Linked DNA regions of Homo sapiens: all the other regions are linked to region 3. Evidence: promoter capture Hi-C in human tissues and cell types (Jung and others, 2019). All regions are on one chromosome and are shown on one strand. The core of a region is centred on a gene start or on the middle of the fragment in contact, and the rest is flanking DNA. Distances in the headings are between cores, read along the strand shown. Region 1 has its middle 20 kb from the start of KCNS2. Region 2 overlaps POP1 (POP1 ribonuclease P/MRP subunit). Region 3 holds the start of NIPAL2 (NIPA like domain containing 2). Region 4 overlaps STK3 (serine/threonine kinase 3). Region 5 overlaps STK3 (serine/threonine kinase 3).

Region 1 (3,297 bases), core at 705-3,204, 150 kb before region 3:
TTATTCTATGACAGCTTTCTTTCCCATTTGGAAAGAAAATATTCTTGGCAAAACATTTGAATGAAAAGACGTAATAGCACTTGGAACAGAAGTCTTTGATGTCAAGGAAAAACAAGGTACATGGAGGAATCTGAAATGTGGAATTGTTTCATTATTAATCAATCAGTGTGCAAATTCATGAATTCCTTCTCTGTTGTCCTTCCATAAAGTATATAGGAGTTTATTTTAAAAGCACACCAGCTGACGACCATAAATCAGTTTGCATGCTTAGCATGTCATCTTTAAAAATTATATGTGATATTACAGCCTGATAGTAATGAATGAATGAAATGGACCTTTAAAAGTTTCAGCAAAGCTTTTTGATTCTGAGAGTAAATTAATTGCTTTAACAAGTAAGTAGTGATTTGGAGTTTGATTTGAATTTGAATGTGTCAGGCAGTCAAAAAAGTCCAAGCAGAATGTTTTTAAAGTTCTTTTTTTTTTTCAGTTTATATTGCTTTATTATTATTATTATTATTATTATTATTATACTTTAAGTTTTAGGGTACATGTGCACAATGTGCAGGTTAGTTACATACAAAGTTCTTAATGTAAAATTATTTCAATTTCAGAGTAATCTAATGGGTTGCTAGTTTTTTAATCTTGTTCAATGAATCCTGGTGCCTTGCTCAGTTCCCTGACATTCATCCACAGCAATGATAGCAAACATATATATAATATTGTATATATTTTACAAATATATACAAATACATGCAACATAATGTATTGCAATATATAGATACTATATATAGTATTGCAATATATAGATACTATATATAGTATTGCAATATACAGATACTATATATAGTATTGCAATATATAGATACTATATATAGTATTGCAATATATAGATACTATATATAGTATTGCAATATATAGATACTATATATATATATAGTATATATGCAATACGATATATACAAATACATGCAATATTTGTCTGTGGTATTCTTTTCTAACTTGCCTGAGAGAAAACAATTTCTTCTGACAGAAAAGGCCTATCCTTACTCTGTCCAATTAGAAGTCAATTCATTTCCTTAGTTCTTGAGGTTGTTATAAAAATATAAGAAAGATTATATCTTTTACAGATTGGAAGTCCTCAAAGGTAGGTATCTTTGAAGCTCTGCTGCCTAACTTACTGCATGGCCATGAGTGAGTTCCTTAATCCTTTTTATAAGTCTCACCTTCTTTTTTTAACCTTCTATTTTAGGTTTGGGGACACATGTGAAGGTTTGTTACATAGGTAAATCCATATGTCATGGGGGTTTGTTGTACAGATTATTTCATCATTCAGGTACTAAGCCTAGTACCCAATAGTTATTTTTCGTGTTCCTCTCCCTCTTGCCACCCTCCACCCTGAAGTAGGCGCCAGTGTGTGTTGTTCGCCTCTATGTGTCCATGTGTTCTCATCATTCAGCTCCCCCTTATAAGCAAGAACATGTGGTATTTGGTTTTCTGTTCCTGTGTTTGTTTGCTAACGATAATGGCTTCCAACTCCATCCATGTCCTCACAAAAGACATTATCTCATTCTTTTTTATGGCTGCATGGTATTCTATGGTGTATATATACTGTATTTTCTTTGTCCAGTCTGTCATTGGTGGGCATTTAGGTTGAATCCATGTCCTTGCTATTGTGAGTGATGCAGCAATGAACATTTGCGTGCATATGTCTTTATGGTAGAATGATTTATATTCCTCTGCATATAAACCCAGTAATGGGATTGCTGGGTCAAATAGTAGTTCTATTTTTAGCTCTTTCCACAATGGTTGAACTAATTTACACTCTCACCAACAGTATATAAGCATTCCCTTTTCTCCGCAACCTCACCAGCATCTGTTATTTTTTGACTTTTTAGTAATAGCCATTCTGCCTGATGTGAGATGGTATCTCAGTGGTTTTGATTTGCATTTCTCTAATGATCAGAAGTCTTACCTTCTTTATCAAGCAGAGACAACCTCAGAGGGTTATGAAAAGTAAATGAGAGATGCACAGAAAACCCTTCAAACACTACCTGGCACCCATGAGTACCCATGACTTGCACTTTCTTTACTCATCAACAAGCATCTATTAAGCACCAACTGTGTGCCAGTGTCTAAGCTAAGTGTGAAATACAGAAATAAAGGCAGCTTTGTTCCTACCCAAGAGCTGGTGCTTATAGCCTGGTACAGGCATGGACACCCACGTGTGGTCATTGCAATAAGAAAGATGTAAACAAAGCCCTGCAGGAGTAGGAATAGAGGAAGTCTTCACTAATGAGATATTTGAACTGAGTCTTGAGGCATGTAAGGCAGGAAAGGGAGAAAGGCACTTTGAGGAGGGCAAAGCATATATAAAGACAGAGATGAGAAAGAATGTCTAGCATACCTTTCGGTGTCTGAGAAAGTTCATTACACAATTAAAGCAGTGAGGGTAGTTTGTCTTGCTTACTCTCTCTGCCCTGCAGTTTAGGAGAGGTCATGGAATCATGTGGTCTGTTTTTGTTTTTGTTTTCCCAAATCACTGAATGTTTTCCAGATAAATTAACACCAGTTGGAGCTAGCCTATTTTCTGGTGCCTTTAGATACTGGTCACACTCGGCTGTACTCAATTCTACTGTTTAATAAATATCTAGAAATAGTGATGTCTGCAGAGGCTTGCTGAGGTTAGGTGTTGGGGAAAAAGGGGCAGAGAGAGGTAGGTAGAGAGTTGGCAACAGCTTCTGAGGAGACAGGTTTATATTCAGTTCCTCAAATCAGTTCACTATCTGCATGCTCCGAGTGAAAAGCTTATCTTCTTTTTGTCAGCAGTTTTCTTCTTGAGGCCATCAGCATTTTCCATTTTTAATTAAGGCAATTTACAAAGAAGGATGCATAAAACATAATAAAATAGCTAAATTAAGAACAAATGAGAAAAGATATGACATACGATATTTTACTGTGAAAATACAAAAAAATACAAAAAAAGTAAAATATCTCAATAATCTTTTATATTTATTATGTGTTGAAATAATAATATTTTGGATATGTTTGGTGGAAATATATTATTAAAATTAATTTCATCTGTTTTTCTTTTACTTTTAAAAAATGTGGCTACTAGAAAATATAAAATTATATATGTAGCTCACATTTGTAGTTTGCGTGACATTTCTATTTGACAGTGACAGTCTATTAGCTAAACGCATCCATCAGCTGATGAATGGATAAATGAAATGTATATCCATTCTGGGGAATATGATTTAGCAATAAAAAGGAATAAAATAATGGGGACAGGATTTTTGG
Region 2 (3,324 bases), core at 557-3,056, 140 kb after region 3:
TTACATTTTTTAGAAAAAAAATCCCATTAAGCTCTTCTAGAAAGTTATGGCAGGAAAGGTAAGGACCAAGGCTATGAGCAAGCCATATGTGGAAACTTAAAGTAGATGAGCACTGAGTTTCTCCATAGTTGGAAAAAAGCCACACTGAGCCCACTCTTCCTGTGAGGCAAGATGAGACCTTCCTTTTATACCCTGTTGAGAATCTCAGGTGGACAACGTGACTGCATGAGTGTTGAAAGGCAGCTTGCCGGCTTAGTTATCACCTTGCAGAGGTAGCTATGCACTACACAGCCACACTGCCCAAAGCGCGCTACTAAGAACACTGGTCCTACAAAGGGCTCCTTGTAAGAGAACTTTAGGAATCACAAGTATTTAGAAAATACTATACACTATCATTTCCTTCCTAGAGATCCGCAATGCACATTATCACATGGAAGTTTCCAGAAGTTCTTTCATAAAGAAATGCTTAACTTTATTTAACCTAGAGTTTCCATATCAACCTGACCTTGGAATCTCTTACTTTTTTAGGTGACACATATCATAGAACATATTCTGAGAAATGCTCCTCTATGGCTTTGAGAAAATCTTTGCAGAAACAAAATAATAATAATTTTTTACTTAAAAAAATTAAGTAACTAGTAGGATCAAGTGTTGGTCAACAACAAAGAGATCAAAGAGTCAGGAAGTCCACGTCATAGACCCCCACTTTCTAATTCCAGCCTAGCACTGACGCCATAAACTGTGCCTGCCTGAAAACAGGCAGAAATCAGTTGTCCATGATTTCTCTCTTTAAGGCTTGAGTTGTTCGGCATGGAAATCACAGTACAGAATTGAATGAGGTCCATCAGGAGCCCATATTTCATGTACAGAGGCCAAGCGTCTTCTCTTGTCTTCTGCTATAACAGTGAAATCATTAAACATCTATTGTTGCTTATCACATGACTATGAGGTTTTTCAAATAGACCTGACAAGCCCTTTGTTTCTAACAAAAAAAGGGGATGATAACTCGTAGAGCTTCTCATTATTTTCAGCCACAACTACACAGACCAAGAGATCATAATACAAAGCTTTTGGCCAAATAATTTAAAAGTATTACAGCAAGGACAGGGAAAGATGAAAATCAATGACATTACTGGAATGATGTAAACATTTCATCATCTGCATAATACATAATTTTTTATTCTTGTTTCCAGGGAGTTTCACATGATATTTTAAAGCAGAAGCAGATTCTCCACATGTAGAACTTGGCAGACAATAATAACGTATTATCTATGCCCTGCTGGGATACAAGCACGCATTCACACCTCAATAGCAATCCTCGCAAATCGATACTGCAGAGAGGCGGGAGGCCTCAGTAGCACTAAGCCCCTCTGCGCTGCAGGCTGGCTGGACAGCATATCCAGCAAGCCTGTCAAGCTAACAAACCCCAGGGCTTCTCCACAGCCAACAGCCATGGAAAAATCTCCCTGAGTCACAAAGCCTAGGAGAGTTCTGGAGCAGTGCAACGTCACACGCGGCAGAGGGCCTGACCACAGCCCTAGAGTCAGAGCTTCCTGCCCAGCCACGGGCTCTTCCCCCGCCGGGCCATCAGAAGAGGCACGTCCTGGCTTCTGCCTCTTCTCCCTTTTCTTCTTCTCTTTCTGTTTCAGGATCTTGCTCCTGAATGGGTCACTGTGTTTGGATTCCTGGGGCCCACAGTAATGCCAGTCCTCATGGAGCTGGAGGAAGTCCTCCTTGGCTGGGACACAGATCATGGTGTGAGGCTCGGGGCTGCCCTTGCTGAGCAGGGACAGGCTGACCCAAACCAGGGCCCTGGGGAAGTGGCCCAAGATGGACAGGCAAGCCTCTCTGGTCAATCCTTGCTGGCCTCTGCCGGGAGCTCGCCGGCCTCCCCGACTATCCTCAGAACTGGGCCCACACCAGGCTGACAGTTGCTTCAGTAATTTTCTACTCCTACATGAAGTTGGAGACATACGTTTGAGGATATTTTGTTCCAGAAAAAAATATGCAATCAGAAGATTAGACACTGCTAGAATTAATTTGATTCTTTTATACTATATAAGAATCAAAACTACAATTTTTTAAAAATTAGAAATACACTGTAGTACATTTTAGTACTTATATTTTTCTTTTTATGTGTTTGCCATTCTGAAACTCAGGGACTAAAGATTTAAGAAGTTGAAGGCAGGGAAAACAAGACAGTGAGATAGAATCTAGGATTGTAATCACAGTGAGGGTGAAAATAAAGAGCCACTAAGATTTCAATGAGTAAAGGAACTGTAAGGGACTGTTACATGTAAAGTAAGAAAGAATGATAGGAAATTATGAGGCTACTATACGGAAAAGTAAGCACAAGGCTAGAGGGATAAGCACTTTTTAAAAATCAAAGCACAGGCCGGGCGCAGTGGCTCACACCTGTAATCCTAGCACTTTGGGAGGCTGAGGTGGGCGGGTCACCTGAGGTCAGGAGTTCGAGACCAGCCTGGCCAACATGGTGAAAATTAGCCAGGCGTGGTGGCATGTACCTGTAGTCCCAGCTACTTGGGAGGCTGAGGCAGGAGAATCGCTTGAACCCAGGAGGCCGAGGTTGCAGTGAGCCAAGATCACACCTCTGCACTCCCGCCTGGGTGACAGAGCAAGACTCCATCTCAAAAAAAAAAAAAAAAAAAATCAGAGCAAAGCACAGAATGCAGGGTCACTGATGAGCAGAACCTGGCCCACACCAATACTGAGAGGAGAACATAGTGTATCCGGTAGCCTCTCTGGCTAGGACTATATTACATCTAATGGGTTGCTGCTCTAACACAAATCCATATAATTCAAAAGGAACTAGAAGAAATCTAATTTGGTAATTTAAAGCAAAGAATCCTTGCTCAAACTGCATAAAATATGTCAGAAAAAAAACTGCCTTGGCTTGGATCTATTGATGACAATATTGTAAATCATTTCATCAATTAGCATCATGCCTTACATCAAATATTATTAAGCTGTTTCCCTGAGCCCTCTATGAAATATAAAAGACTGGCTTTCCCTTCCAGAAAGCCTATAAATTCACTTGGATTTTGCATAAACAAACAGTGATAACGCTTACATCCTGTAGCCTCTTCAATATTAAAATAAATAATCCAAAATGTACCCAGAAGTCACCGACACTTACCTGAGAACGCAGAGGTGACTCCCTGTGGCAGCAACATGGTTTTCACTGGCCTCCTGGTCTGTGATCCTCTCAGGCCCTGCCGATTCTTGACACCCTGCATCCATTACCTCCTCTGCCTCCCTGGGGTGCTCTATGGATGTGCCCACTTCATCAGATGGCTGATGAGT
Region 3 (3,113 bases), core at 614-3,113:
TTATTTGGATACTCTGTTACTTGCACCCTAAAGCATGTGAAGAGAAAGAAGCATTAATGAAGTCACCAATATCAATGAATGTGATGTTATAGAAAACTTATCAGACAAGGCATGGCAGCTCACACCTGTAATCCCACCACTTTGGGAGGCCGAGGTGGGACAACTGTTTGAGGCCAGGAGTTCTAGACCAGCCTAGGAAAAATTGCGAGACCCTGTCCCTACAAAAAAATAGAAAAATATTAGCCAGGGCCAGGTGTGGTGGCTCACACCTGTAATCCCAGCACTTTGGGAGGCCAAGACAGGGGGATCACTGGAGGTTAGGAGCTTGAGGCCAGCCTGACCAACACCGTGAAACCCTGTCTCTACTAAAAATACAAAAATTAGCCGGGCTTGGTGGTGTGCACGTGTAGTCCCAGCTACTCAGGAGGCTGAGGCAGGAGCATTGTTTGAACCCAGGAGGCAGAGGTTGCAGTGAGCTGAGATTGTGCCACTGCACTGCAGCCTGGGCAAGAGAGAGAGACTCTATCTAAAAAAAAAAAAAATTAGCTGGGCATGGTGGCATGCACCTGTATGTAGTCCCAGGTGGGAGGATCACTTGGGCCCAGGAATATGAGGCTAAAGTGAGTCAAGATCACACCACTGCACTCCAGCCTGGGCAACAGAGCAAGACCCTGTCTCAAAAAATAAAATAAAATGTAATATAACAAATAGAGACCTTTTTCCTTCAGATATTTATTTGAAGTAAATCAGCCTCTTAAAATTGGGAATAGTTACCTACAATTGTTAGCTGTTCACTGAACATCTCGAGTGCTTAAGCAAGAAACTACACAATTTCTGAGACGACATGTCTTGTTTTTTCTGTATGTGAAATGACTTTTTCTCACTCTTTTCTCTCATTTGCACATTTCCCCTAAGAAACACTGAAAACTGTCCCTGCTCCCTTCTAGGCAGCAATTCTCTTTTCTTGAAGGTCTCTCTTTCATGAACTCATGGAAGTCAAAGCACATTATCTAAGAAAAACCTCAGCATTGTGTAAACAAAAGAAGGCAACTATCAGCCTTCAGGCAACAGTATAGAATCATGGTTTTTTTAAAGTGAGAAATACCCTACAGATCATTTGTGGTCACACATTAGAATTTGAATACAGGTAAAACCAGAACATCTCGTTAGAGTTCTTAAGATTAATAACAACATTTATCTTTCATCCTAAATTCATATATACAGTAGCTGGCAACTTTTCAGCAACTCCACCTGATCCCATCTGAAGCAAACCCAATCCAGTCATCGCACACTGGGGTCCTATGGCTACCACATTCCTCATTCAAGGAATATTTACTAAGGATCTATCAAGCACTGGCACTGAGATTCAATCGCTCGGATCTTTTTTTCTCATATTGCTTACAATATTTCTGGGAACTCATGACTTTTTCATATGCAATCAATTTTTAAAATATCGGTGAGAAACACTACATATGTGATAGAGGACTGGAATTGCCAGGTAGAGATGGGAGATGATAGCTGCTTTGGGTTAGTCAGTGTCTCCTCCTCTTCCATTGACTTGGACAAATGTTTACAACGGAGATGATCTGATTCTGGCCCCGACAGGCGCGGGGACCCGTTGCGGACGGCCGCGGGGATTGCCCCCTTGGGCAGTGCGGCCCCGAGGATGCAGACACTGGCCCAGCGGAAGGAGGGCGCGGTGCGAGCTGGACGGCCCCGGGAGGCCGCAGACCGCCGGGCTCCCCGAGGACACCTCGCACCGGAGGAGGAGAGGAGGCAGCGCCCGGCCAGGCTGGGAGCACCTACGGCCGCGCGGGGGCGGGAGCCAGGTGGCCTCGGCGCGCCCGCCTCGCCCGGGCACCGAGCAGGAAGTGGCTGCGGCGCGGCCTCCTCGCGGTGCAACAGGGCGGGGAGGCGGCCGCAGCCCGAGCCGGAGCCCGAGCGCCGGGAGCGAGACCTCATGGCAGCGGTGGCGCCCGCGGGCCCCGGGGACTCCGCCTCGGCCGCCCTGGACGAGCTGTCACTGAATTTCACGTACGGGGCACCAGGCGCCGGCAACGGCTCCCTCTCGGGCGACTGGTACCGCAGGAACCAGGTAAGGGCCGCCCCGCAGCCACCGCAGCCCGGTGGGGACGCGGCCAGGGCGGCTGGCTCCGGGCGCCTCTGCGCCTCGGCCGCTTTCCTGCCAGCTCTCAGGAAGACACCCGGCCTCTCCGAGTGGGAAGAGGTGACATGCAATGTTTCCCGCATTGACCTAAGTCCGCCTCATCCGGAAGCGCGGGGGTCCGCCCAGTCTTCCTCTCCCGGGCACCCGGCACTGGGAGTGGGCGCCCAGGTCTTCGGCCTTGACCTCAGCCACCCGTTCCTGGGACCTCCGGGTCCCGATCCCGCCTCCCCAGCCTGCGTCCGCCCTCTTCTCCCGGAAGGAATCTAGGAGTGTGGGGGCAATTCACTCATTTTCACCCCAGGATCCTTTTACAGTTAAAAGAAAAGAAAAAAGTGACACCCTGTTATCAGAAGCAGAAAACTCATTAAGGGCAGCCTAATGTCACCTCGCGCAGATGCCCTGCGTGTGTCCCTGGTATCTCAACACAGCTCTTCCATTTCCGTGCGAGGAACACATTTTCTCAGGTTGCATTTGCAGGACTCTCATTCTTTCCCACCGGCCCTTTGGGAAAACTTTGTTAACTTAAACAACGCCAGTTTACACTGGAAATATACATTTAACAAAATCAAAGGGACTTGGAGCCGCCCATTTATTTTTGGCTTGGTTTAAGATGAGGAAGTGTTCTGGCCAGCCCTTCCTCTAGCAGCGTTCATATTGCAACTAAGTTTTATCACGGTGGATTCCAGGCTTCCTCCTGTTTTCATTAAATGTGTTACTTTGTTCTTGTTCTTTAACAAAACCATGGATACTTTTATTTTTGCAACAATATAATCAGAAAATATTTGTTGCTGTTGTCCTAAATCGGAGAGTTTAACCAATTATCAAAGATCTGGATTCCTTTTATGCCTGAAGTGTTCTAAATATTAATTTCTGAATGCAGAAGAGAATATATTTGTATAAAGAATAAGTAAGATAAATAAGCATGTTCACTTTATTAGTTTTCAAG
Region 4 (2,952 bases), core at 446-2,945, 180 kb before region 3:
TTTTATAACATGATTGTCAACTCTGAACTGAAAAAAGGGTGGGGAAGCAACATTGGTTCCACCTGGAATCAGTTTTTTTCCTTTTTCTGTTGGAATGAAAATCCTGCTTTTCAGGGGGCCGCAGAGCCAGAACATTTACCCATAGCCGTCTAAGACTGCTGGTAAATATAAAGTATAACTTTATTACAGTGACCCCGTGTCAGTGTCCTTTGTAATTCTAATTAGTCCTGATAATTACCTTGGACTTTTCATCACCTAACCAGTAAAAACCCAAGTCTGCCCAATATTAGAGTTTGTGGGGCAATAAAAGTCTCTTCACTGGACTGAGTTGCTCCCAAGATTTCATATCTGTAAGCAAATCACAGCCTGATTCTCACCTTCCTTGCATGCCTCTGATTTTGATGAATTATCTGGATAAAACAGAGGATATTATATGTTGAATACACAGGTAACATTAAACTTTTCTCCCCCAATGTTTTGAATACAAACTTCCAGTCTACACTTAGGTACATGTTGGAGTAAAAGTCAAATCTTGGTGTTTTCTCTGCCCAGTATCCCTACCTTTGCCTTGAAGTGTATCTAAGGCCTAGATGGAATTTATAGTCCTAAATAGTTTGCTTTAAAGTGAACTAGAACATCGTGATACTCTGCTTACCGTATTTGATTATGACAAACTGTCAAATAACAGTTCAGTCAATGAATGGTGCTGCTTGTGGGTGAGCTGAGAAGGTCATAGGCAGAAAAAGCAAGAAATTCTAGAGGAGGAACTAGCATAATTTGTTTCGCGTCTGGCAAAAGAATGGAAAGGTTATCATTGTTAAATCCGCCATTTATAATTCTCAAAGTTTTAGCTCATAGGGGCATGGTGACAGTGTTTTGTTTCACTTCTTTAAACTTGATGCTGACTTTTATCATAGCGTAGATATCAGATGATGCTTTAAAAAACCTCCTTAAGAGAGTTGTCTATTTTTATTTTTAAATATTTCAAATGGATGGTGTTTCAGGTCAGACCTCATTTTTGTAATAGTACATGGAGTCTGTTCTTTAACAAATTGTATTCAACCTTATTGTGGATTAATATTCTGGTAATATGGTTTTACTTTCTAAAAAACTAGTCTTCAGAACAGTCTAGCAAAAGATCTATTGTAGTCAGCTCTAAAATTGTTTTCCTGGTGCTTGAGAATTAAAGGCTTTTGAAGTAAGTTAAATAGGCCATCTCTGTTGTCACTGCCTCTTGTATAACAATGGATGTTCTACATTCTCTCTTCTCACCCCTGTTCTTGGTGCTTCTGAGCAAGATCATGCACACACTTAAGCACAGGACTTTCAGGTGCATGAACCTGAGAGTCCACAAAGCTTCCGGCTCCTACTCAGCATTAAGATGTCAACCATAGAAATTATGGTCCCTAATAAGGCTTGAGAATTGTGCTAGCCAATGAATTGATTGAGACATTCAAGTCATTGGATATGGGTATACAGATGAGCTCAGATTTCAGGAAACTTCATCACAGTAACGTCTTTAATTATTAATATTGACTCATTTTTCTGAATATGTGTATGTCACCGTGATGACAAACACTAACAAGTTAATAAATACAATCTTCACTAGTGGTTGTTGCCATGTAAGATGGCTCTTATTCTTAAAGCAATATTAATGGGTGACAGATTGGATGATGTTAGGCACCTGCTAAATTTGGGGATCTAAAGAAGGCCCAGTCCTATATTCACGTATCTCATATTGTACAGTTCTAATGTGGCAGAAATTTAAAAAATGATTGCAGTACGGTGATAAATGTTATAACAGAGACATATGCAAAATTATCTTTAGGTATATGGAGAAAAAAGTAACTCAGTATGCTTACAGGGAAAATTTGACCAGGAAGACTTTATGAAGATGACATTTAAGATCAGTCCTAAAGATGAATAGAACTTCATCAGGCAGAGATGAGGGAAAGGACACTCTCAGTAGACAGAACTGTGTTAACAAAGTCTTGAAGCCAAAGTGGGGAGTGTGGAACAACATTCTAAGCAAAGGAAAGGCATGTAATCATTTAATCCTAACCTCTTAATTTTTGGACGATTTTACTCCCAATTCACATGCAAAGAGCTTGGTGAATCTGAGAAACTGAAAGAGAATCAGTCATGATGGAAACATAGGAGTAATGGCTAGAGTAGCACAAGCTGAAGCTGCAGACCTAGGCAGGATTAGATTCAGGCAAGGCCGCATTTGGATTTCATATGCAAGAAAGAGCCATTTCCGTATCTTAGGGGCAGGACATGACCCAGTATACATTTTTAAACAATAATTCTGGCTGCTGTATGGAGAGTGAATTGGAGGGGAGCAAAGATAGAAGGAAACTAGTTAGGAAGCTATTGAAACAGTGTGCTCAAGATAAGAGGGCTTTGACTGGGGAGATGACAGCAGATGAAGAGGAGGACATCGATTTGACATATCTTGGTAAGTAGTATGAACACCACAAGGCATGGCAACATTTGAATATGGTAGGTTCTTAGCATTTGCAACTAGTTGGATGGTGGAAGAGCCATTTAGTGAAATAGGAAAGGTTAAAAGATAAACAGTTTAGAAGGTCTCTGTCAGATATGAACTTACTGAGTATTGCAATACCCAGGAGACATCTAATAGAATTGCTAAGTTCTGGAACTCAGAAGACAGATCTATATTAGAGATACTATCAGATAGATGGTATTTAAAGCCCAGGGCATGTATGAGACTGCCTAGGAAATGGAGTATATAGTAAAAGCCCAGAGTCCTGAGTAGTTCTAACATTTAGTAGTTGAGAAGAAGCCAATAAAGGAGATTGAGAAATGGCCATAAATTTAGGAGAAAAGAGAGCATGGTGTTGTAGGAGCCAAGAGAGGGAGGTTTCAAGAAGGAAAGGTGTGGACAAAGTATCAAGTACAGCTGGAGGGGCCAAATAAGATAGAAACTAA
Region 5 (3,075 bases), core at 554-3,053, 200 kb before region 3:
GATGTTTTGTTTTATGTAATTAGACCATGCTAGGTGAATTAAGTATGTAATTAAAAACAGAAGGTTTGGCTAATTCAGAGTAAATGAGTACAAAATACAAGGTCATTATCCATCTCTAGTGAGACTCCAGATGAACAGTGCACATGGAACTATTTATAAAACATTTTTCATGGTCAGAGCTCCTCTAGGTTGCTGTCCATGGCCTTTGAATTAAGTATTCACAGACTTTCAGGAAAAAAAAAAGTACCTGTAATATAGAAATATGATCCCACTTAAGGTGCTCATCTGAGTGGAAAACCAAAAAAGATTAGAATCTAATCTTCTATCCCAGATAGAAAAGGTAAAATGTATTCCTCCTGTTTGAAACGTGAACATTTACTATGTTGCTTGGCACATTGCGTTGATGGTTAGAACTGTGAAACTTTTGAGAGTCCTGACTCTCATTTGTTTTCATTTCATGCAGCCTGGAGATGTACGGGCAAAATATCCCTAATTTAATCTGTTTCCTCCGTGCTTAGTCACAGTGGGTGACATGGGATGGATTTTTTCTTCTGGAAAGCCTGGAAAGTATTTTATTTGAAATATATTTTCTTTTATAGTATGAGAATGTGCAGCTTTTAGAAAGCTGGTGTTTAATTTAGTGGTTGGATTCATGAAGAAAGTTTGAATCAGTGACTGGAAGCACAAAGCTGAACCTTCTCTTAGCAGTCCCTTCACAGTTGGGCTCCTGGTGTCTCTCCAGTTTTTTCCTGCTGTTCTCTCTTCCACAGTAGCTGTGCTTCAGTTTGCCTGGGCTTTTCCAGCATCACCACCACTGTCTTCATCCACTGTCTTTGGCTTGCCTTTCTTGGCACTGTTTAAGATTGGTTTCCTGAAGCAAAAAATGGGTTAGGTCTCCCAGTAAATGTTTTCATAATCTCTCTCTCTCTTTTTTTTTTTTTTTTTTTTTTTTTTGAGACAGGGTCTCACTCTGTCACCTAGACTAGTGTGCAGTGGCACCATTATAGCTCACTGCAGCCTTGAACTCCTGGTCTTAAGTGATCCACCCACCTTAGCCTCCCAAAGTGCTGGGATTACAGGTGTGAGCCACTGTGCCCAGCCAATGTCTATTTTAATTCCCTAATCTAAGCCAGTTAAGAAGTTAAGATGCCCATGCAAACAATTATAATGCAATAAGATCATTGTTTAATGGAAGAGTCTTCAAAACTACAGTTAGGAATATATAAGGAACACCAAAGTTCACCTGAGAGAAAAGGGATGCTGTTAGAGAAGTTAGCATTTAAACAGATACCTAAGAATGAGTAAGAATGTACCAGATAGACAAGTGGAAAAAATGGTGCTGCAGTATTTACAGAAGGACTAGCCATAAGAAAGCATGTTCAGTGTTGCTAGAGCATGAAATTGAGTTGGAAAGTGGTAGAAATGAGGCTGGAGAGTAGGCAGCAGCGTTTATACCTTACAAGGAGGTTGGGAGTTGGGCTTATGGATAACTGAAAGCCATTGAAAAATTACAGCAAGCTGACCTCTTGAAACAGAATTGCAAAAAATTGAGATTGGAAGTAGAGAAATCATTAAGGGGATTGTTGCAATATGACATAGTCCAAATGAGAAATGAACAAAAGCAATGAAATTGATATTAGGGGACAGTTTTGAGAGAATCTCTAGTCCTTAGTGATTAGATCTGGGAAGTAAGAGAAAAGGAAGATCTCAGATAAGTCCCAGATTACCTGAATAACTAGGTGAAGGAGAGAAGAGGGGTTGGTGGATCCATTCAATTTAAGGAATAGTGACTTTTTAAGGTGGAATATGATGAATTCATTTTGGTTATATAAGTACCATCAGACATTCAGAAAGAGATGCTTCTTAGACATAACCAGAATTGGAGTTCCACAGAGATCTGGGCTAGAGATTTCTGGATTGTGAGTCATCTTTTAATTGGTATAGTTCAAGTCATCAGTATAGAGGGAGAATAATATTAGACTGAGATGGGTCCCTGTGGAGCAACAACAGAGAAAGGAATGTGACATCTTAGATACTGAGGGAGGAGAACATTTCAAGAAAGAGGAAATGAATGTGTAAAAAGCTTCAGCAAGATCGAATCATAGGAGAGCTAAAACCCGAAGATTGGATAAGGTGTTAAGGAGATCAATGTTGCTTTTAAGTGAAGCAGCCTCCATGAGATGGTGACGCCTAAAGCCAGACTGCTTCAGAGCGGGAAGTGAATCAAGGAGGGAAGAAGTAGACTTCTTCCTAGAAGTTGCTTGTGAAAAGAAGAGATATAATAGTTAAAGGAGAACATAAGATTAAAGAAACTTTTTATTTTATTTTATATTGCTTTTAGATATGAAACGCTTGATGATTTTTTTTTTTTTTTTTGAGACAGGGTCTTGCTCTATTGCCCAGGATGGAAATGCAGTGGCACAGACACAGTTCACTGCAGCTTCGACCTCCTGGGCTCAAGCAATTCTCCTGCCTCATCCTCCCAAGTAGCTGGGACTACAGGTGCACACTACCATGCCTGGCAAATTAAAAAAAAAAAAATGTAGAGTTGGGTCTCACTATGTTACCCAGGCCGGTCTCAAACTCCTGGGCTCAGGCAATCCTCCCGCCTTGGCCTCCCAAAGTGCTGGGATTACAGGTGTGAGCCACCATGCCTGGCATACTTGATGATTTTTATATGCTGAAAGAGCTAATGGCAGGAATTGGAGGATTGACTGAAGATAGTCAATGGAATGAAGTTCCTAAGGAAAGAGGAGGGGATGGGACCTAGAGCACTAGTAGAGAAACCACATCTGGACAGGAAGAGGGAGAAGTGTTACTCTGGGTCAAAGGAATTAGAGGATAAGAGTGGGTGCAGCCTTCAGGGTGTGGGTGACACCTGATAATTACTCCCCTCTCTTTTTATCAGTTCTCTTGCCAAATATCTAGCAATTTCAAATCTTAACTGCCATTGTAGGTCTTCTTGATTTATCTAACCATAAAATCCATTCCATTCCTGCCAAAAAAAAATACAAAACACTATTTTTAATACCACTTCTTTACCACACTGAATGTTGTTCCCTTTCTTTAAACTAT

What was found. Contacts are between HindIII fragments. The study calls those that stand out against the background at their distance.
Region 1: a fragment that was not itself captured here is called in contact with the fragment with the promoter of NIPAL2 in region 3 in 2 of the 25 tissues and cell types used here (H1 embryonic stem cells and mesendoderm cells).
Region 2: a contact is called between a fragment that was not itself captured here and the fragment with the promoter of NIPAL2 in region 3, in 4 of the 25 tissues and cell types used here (H1 embryonic stem cells, dorsolateral prefrontal cortex, mesendoderm cells and 1 more).
Region 4: a contact is called between a fragment that was not itself captured here and the fragment with the promoter of NIPAL2 in region 3, in 1 of the 25 tissues and cell types used here (thymus).
Region 5: a fragment that was not itself captured here is called in contact with the fragment with the promoter of NIPAL2 in region 3 in 2 of the 25 tissues and cell types used here (IMR-90 fibroblasts and aorta).

Annotation. Positions count from the first base shown.
Region 1 is chr8:98,445,188-98,448,484 of GRCh38, reverse strand. It overlaps a transcript of STK3 not described here. Among named protein-coding and RNA genes, the nearest start is that of KCNS2, 20 kb to the right of the region's middle. The HindIII fragment of the contact is 4,082 bases long and covers 1-3,297 here.
Region 2 is chr8:98,156,246-98,159,569 of GRCh38, reverse strand. It overlaps POP1 (POP1 ribonuclease P/MRP subunit), which reads right to left. Exons shown (of 16, transcript NM_001145860.2): 15 at 3,158-3,324; 16 at 1-1,953. The coding sequence ends at 1,299. Among named protein-coding and RNA genes, the nearest start is that of NIPAL2-AS1, 19 kb to the left of the region's middle. The HindIII fragment of the contact is 5,544 bases long and covers 1-3,324 here.
Region 3 is chr8:98,292,985-98,296,097 of GRCh38, reverse strand. NIPAL2 (NIPA like domain containing 2) reads left to right here and starts at 1,863. Exons shown (of 11, transcript NM_001321635.2): 1 at 1,863-2,095. The coding sequence starts at 1,961. All of the region lies in intron 5 of LOC105375659 (a long non-coding RNA gene), which reads right to left. RefSeq lists a silencer at 1,624-2,343. The HindIII fragment of the contact is 9,267 bases long and covers 1-3,113 here.
Region 4 is chr8:98,473,649-98,476,600 of GRCh38, reverse strand. The region is part of intron 10 of STK3 (serine/threonine kinase 3); the gene reads left to right. Among named protein-coding and RNA genes, the nearest start is that of KCNS2, 48 kb to the right of the region's middle. The HindIII fragment of the contact is 3,817 bases long and covers 1-2,952 here.
Region 5 is chr8:98,492,534-98,495,608 of GRCh38, reverse strand. The region is part of intron 10 of STK3 (serine/threonine kinase 3); the gene reads left to right. Among named protein-coding and RNA genes, the nearest start is that of KCNS2, 67 kb to the right of the region's middle. The HindIII fragment of the contact is 3,282 bases long and covers 163-3,075 here.